Regions from separate parts of the Homo sapiens genome. Here region 1 is linked to region 2. Evidence: promoter capture Hi-C in 16 types of primary human blood cells and fetal thymus (Javierre and others, 2016). All regions are on one chromosome and are shown on one strand. The core of a region is centred on a gene start or on the middle of the fragment in contact, and the rest is flanking DNA. Distances in the headings are between cores, read along the strand shown. Region 1 overlaps CBLL1 (Cbl proto-oncogene like 1). Region 2 holds the start of BCAP29 (B cell receptor associated protein 29).

Region 1 (2,701 bases), core at 152-2,651, 170 kb before region 2:
GCACCCGCCACCACACCCAGCTAATTTTTTGTATTTTTAGTAGAGACGAGGTTTCACTGTGTTAGCCAGGATGGTCTCAATCTCCTGACCTCATGACCCGCCCGTCTCAGCCTCCCAAAGTGCTGGGAAAACAGGCGTGAGCCACCACACCTGGCAGAAACTCAATTTTTCAAACCAGAAAATTATTGAGATAACAGCCAAGGAAATTAGGAGCACATTATCATTTTTCAGAGTAGTTCCACCTGTACTCCCATCATTAAACTATATATATTTTGATTGATGCCTAGGAAAACAACAATCAAAAACAAACTTATTTTACTCCAAAATCCGAGAGGGAAAGGAGAGAAAAGGATTTTGGCTTTTCTGCATTGTTTGAACTATTAAAGAATTATTTGTACACTAACGTGTTGTTTTAAAAAACTATTTTTTTAAACAAAGCCAAAGCAGGAGTGACCCTAAATTAGAGGTAGTGCAACAGCAGCCCTAGGTTATTACTAACACGATTTCTAACATTTTGACTTGAAATATACTTGTTTAGATGGCAGAGGAACCCTACGATAAAAGAAACCATAACATATGTTGTAACTAAAGCAGTTTGATTCTACAAAATAAATACAGACAAATTGCTGGAATAGAACAGAAAGTCCAGAAATACAAAAAAATACTTTTAATACAGGGGTCCCCAACTCCCAGGCCTTGGACCAGTACCCTTGGCCTGTTAGGAATGCGGCCACACAGCAGGAGGTGAGGGAAGGGCTAGGGAGCATTACCACTTGACCTCTGCCTCCGCCTCCCGTCAGATCAGCAGCCTCATTAGATTCTCATAGGAACGCAAACCCTATTGTGAACCGTGCAAGAGAGGGATCTAGGTTGGTGCTCCTTACAAGAATCTAACTAATGCAACAGTTGCATCCCGAAACCACTCCCCGCACCCTGCCATCACTCTCCACCTGTGGAAAAACTGTCTTCCACGAAACCAGTCCTGGTGCCAAAAAGATTAGGGACTGCTGCTTTAACATATATATGATAACAGTAAAATCCCTATTCAGCAAGGAAAAGAGTTGGGACAATGTTTCGAGGGAAAAAAAAAAAAGCCAGACCCCACCTTTTTTCCCCTTAATAACCATAAATGTTCTAAAGCAGTATCAGTGAACTTTTTCTGTGAAATGCTAAATAGTAAATATTTACGCTTTGTGGACCATATGGTCTCAATCACAATTACTCAACTCTACCATTATAGTGTGAAAGCCCCCATAGATAATACTTAAATGAATGAGCATAGCTGTGTTCCAATAAAATTGTTTATAAAAACAGGGCTACATTTGGCCCACAGACATAGTTTGCTAACCTGTAATCAAGGGTAAGATGGAAAAACTCTTTTATACTGGTGAAATAGGGGAAGGCCTTTCAAATAATGTCACAAAACCCAGAAGTCATAAAAGCAAAGACCGGATATCTGACTATATAGAATCTTCAAGATTCTCTGCAATAACTATAATCCCAGCACTTTGGGAGGCCGATGCGGGCGGATCATGAGGTCAGGAGATCGAGACCATCCTGGCTAACACAGTGAAACCCCGTCTCCACTAAAAATACAAAAATTAGCTGGGCGTGGTGGCGGGCACCTGTAGTCCCAGCTACTCGGGAGGCTGAGGCAGGAGAATGGCATGAACCTGGGAGGCAGAGCTTGCAGTGAGCCGAGATCCCGCCACTGCACTCCAGCCTGGGTGACAGCGCAAGACTCTGTCTCAAAAAAAAAAAGATTCTCTGCAATAAATATTTTGTATACAAAATTCAAAAGACAAATGAAGAATATATACAATATAGGCCAGGCACAGTGGCTCACGCCTGTAATCCCAGCACCTTGGGAGGCTAAGGCAAGAGGACTGTTGAGTCCAGGAGTTCAAAACCAGCCTGGGCAACATAGCAAGACCCCATGACTACAAAAATTAAATATAAAAAATTAGCCAGGCAGGTGGGGTGCACCTGTAGTCCCAGCTCCTCAGGAGACTGAGGTGGAAAGATCACTTGAGCCTGGAATATCAAGCCATGATCCCACCACTGCATTCCAGCCCAGGCAACAGAGTAAGACTCAGTCTCAAAAAAACAAAAACAAACAAACAAACAAACAAAAAAATATATATACACACACGCACATACATAACATATAACAAAAACCCTATTAATTTACAAAGAACTCAGAAGAAAGGATCTAAACAAGAATGGTCAATGCTATGAAAAAATATACACTCTTTCATAATTAAAATAAATTTACATCAAAACAAAAATTTTAAAAGGTTTCTAGTACTCAGTATTGGTGTATGGCAGTAAAAACTAACATACCTTTTTATTATTATTTTTTTAATTCCAAAGCCTTTAAAACTACAAATTTGGATATTTTAAAACTTGACAGATACTGTGGATTTTAGAGTTTGACAAGTACTGTCAAATTGCTCTTAAAAAAAAAAAAAAGGCCAAATCTGTGCAAAGTACAAATTCTACAAAGTATACATACTAAACTGTATGTCCAAGAATATTTGGTGCAATGTTTTTTGTAACAGAAAAAACTGGAAAAACTGTTAAATAAATTATGGTATATCTATAAATACCCAAACCTATTTTTTTAATGAGGTACATCTGTAAGTACTGATAAGAAAAAAATCTCAAATGCATATTACATGAAAAAATGGCAACTACACAT
Region 2 (2,700 bases), core at 186-2,685:
TTTAGTGGGTTATCTCTAGGATCTCACTTATGAAATACTTTCTTTTATGCCAGGAGTATGAACAAATATCTTGCAATATTTTTATTACATGTGTATTTCCCCATTCATACTATCAAATTTCTGGATCTAAAATTAAACGACTAAAAAGTAGATTACTGCAAGGGTAAAATGAACCACTGCTTGGCTTGAAACACTGTACTTGGTTCTTCAAGACCTTAGAAGTTCCGTCACTAACGAACTAATGCTAATACATGGTTGTGATACTTTTCACATTCAGCACTTTTAATATACATTCATTAATTTTATGTGAAATCAAAAGTAGTAAAATTGTCATTAATGAAACTAACGGTTACAAAGGCGAAAACTAAGAATAATTTATTGGCTTTGGTTTCTAAATTGCTGTTCCAGTGCCTCAGTGAAACACTTTTACACCCATGCTGTACTGTAAACATGATTTATCCACTTATATTTATTTAGTTCATGGCTCCAATTCAGGGCAATAAAACAAAGGTAAAACCTGAGACAAGGCAGGGCAGGTGTTAAAAGTATAATCGTTGCTTTATTATATCTGTAATCAACAGAATCAAAAGTATAGGCGCCTTTTCTTTTAGAAGGGAAGAAAAAGTTATTTCACTTGTACACGTAACAGAGTTTTATATAAAATGTTATTTTAATATTGTCATTATATACTACCTAATTCGTTAGGTGAGTTTATTTTCAAAGACTTTCGAAACTTTTTAATGTTCAGAAAACTTTTTCCATTTTACATTAAGAGCGATCCAATATTTATTAGTTAACGATTTGAAGGTTTCCTACCTCTGAGGAGGAATAAAAGGTAGGCAGAAGATTAAAATGAGTCCTATTTCGGCATAAAGAAAGGTTGCCACTGCAGCCCATTGGAGTGTCATTTTTTTCTTCACACCTAAATGGAAAAACACTTATTTTCTCTTGCTTCCTTTCAAACAAAACCGGGTTCAAGGCCCCGAGGCGCAGCGTTTTTGTCCAGGGGATGGACAGTGTTCCACCTTCCCCCACCTGGGAAGGCAAGCACGGACCCCGGTCAGGAAGGGGAAAAGGGTGGCCCGGGAAGCGGGTGTCGCCACCTCCCTGGGAGTCGTGGGAACTGGCGAGGCGGCTCGCTGGCCACTGCCTTTTCCGCCAGCTTCGCGGCGACAGAAGCCCAACGCCTCCCTCCACCAACGCCCGGCTTCCCGGCCCTCCCGCTCCCAGAAGGCGCCGCGGGCCCTCGACCACCGCGCCGCGGACCGGGCCGGGCCGGGTCGGGCCAGGCCAGCTCCGCGGGGTTCTCCAGACCAGGCAGCGGCGCTCTCCCTCCGCGGCCTACGCCCCACGGGTCCCCGGGTCGCAGAAGCCCTTACCCGCCGGCAGCCCGCCTGGCTCCCTGCGCTGCTCCGCGGCCGCCGACGCGCGGGACGTCAGACGCCGCGGCTGGGCGGGGGAGGGGAGCCAGGGCCCCACCCCGCCTCACGCCCCGCAGGCTCCCGCCCGCGGGTCCGTCCCGGCTGAGGTCACAGGCGGCGCGACCACGTTTATTGGCAACAGTTGTTTTCTAATTGGCGGCAGGTCAGAGAATGAGTTAGACTTTTGACCTGATGCTTGGAGGTCGGAGCGCAACTTCTTCAGGAGGACAGACTTTCCACTGCTAAGTGCGGCCCCGGCGGGAGGGTGCCGGGGTCCAGGTCTAAGGAGCGGCGCCGGGCGGCGGGGCTGGATTGGGTGGTGCAAATTCAGCGAACGCGCTTAAGACGCACTCCTTTCCGGTCACCTACTCTCTCTTCATGGTGGGAACTGTTTGTGTCCAGAATTAAGCTATATTTAATAAAGGGCCAGGATGAGGTGGTCGTGCAGCATTTTGTTCTGGAGAACCTAGGATCAACTGTATGTCACAACATATTCCGTAGGCGTTCCCGTTCCCGTCCATGGGCTGGGAAGAGACAGTAAACTTTACCGTGATGTTTGGGGACTGGTACGAAAGGTGGGTATGGGGATATTCTTTCACTATTTTCCAGCTTTTCAAACTGTGCGTGTACATTTAAGTTGTTGAGTTTTTTCAATATTGACAACGTATCAGGAATTTAATAAAAGTACTATCCTGGTAACAATTATTTGGGGAATAGTAAATAAATGTTGAAAATTGATAATTATAGAATATAAAACATTCAAAAACACATTTAAGTTGGTGCTTTTTCTTAATTTATCACTAATATTCTGGATCACATGTAACAGAAAAAATAGAAAAATAGACTTTGAACATAAATTAACCATAAGGAAGATTTTTTTTTTTTTTTTGAGATGGAGTCTCCCAATGTCGCCCAGGCTGGATTGTGGTGGTGCGATCTCGGCTCACTGTAGCCTCTGCCTCCCAGGTTCAAGTGATTCTCTGGCCCCAGTCTCCAGAGTGGCTGGGATTACAGGCGCCTGCCACCATGCCTAGCTAATTGTTGTATTTTTAGCAGAGACAGGGTTTCACCATGTTGGCCAGGCTGGTCTCGAACTCCTGGACTCAAGTGATCTGCCTGCCTTGGCCTCCCAAACTGTTGGGATTACAGGTGTGAGCCACCGCGCCTAGCCAGGAAGTTACTTTTTTTTTTTTTTTTTTGAGACAGAGTCTTGCTCTGTTGCCCAGGCAGGAGTGCAGTGGCGCAATCTCAGCTCACTGCAAGCTCCACCTCCCAGGTT

What was found. Contacts are between HindIII fragments. The CHiCAGO score rates a contact against its expected background, and 5 or more counts as called.
Region 1: a contact is called between a fragment that was not itself captured here and the fragment with the promoter of BCAP29 in region 2, in 1 of 17 cell types (monocytes). The highest score is 5.2, in monocytes.

Annotation. Positions count from the first base shown.
Region 1 is chr7:107,749,373-107,752,073 of GRCh38, reverse strand. All of the region lies in intron 2 of CBLL1 (Cbl proto-oncogene like 1), which reads right to left. Among named protein-coding and RNA genes, the nearest start is that of CBLL1-AS1, 6.1 kb to the right of the region's middle. The HindIII fragment of the contact is 5,237 bases long and covers 1-2,701 here.
Region 2 is chr7:107,578,981-107,581,680 of GRCh38, reverse strand. BCAP29 (B cell receptor associated protein 29) reads right to left here and starts at 1,435. Exons shown (of 8, transcript NM_018844.4): 1 at 1,380-1,435; 2 at 817-922. The coding sequence starts at 908. It overlaps DUS4L-BCAP29 (DUS4L-BCAP29 readthrough), which reads right to left. Exons shown (of 13, transcript NR_163941.2): 7 at 817-922. RefSeq lists an enhancer at 928-997 and a silencer at 1,088-1,577. The HindIII fragment of the contact is 6,036 bases long and covers 1-2,700 here.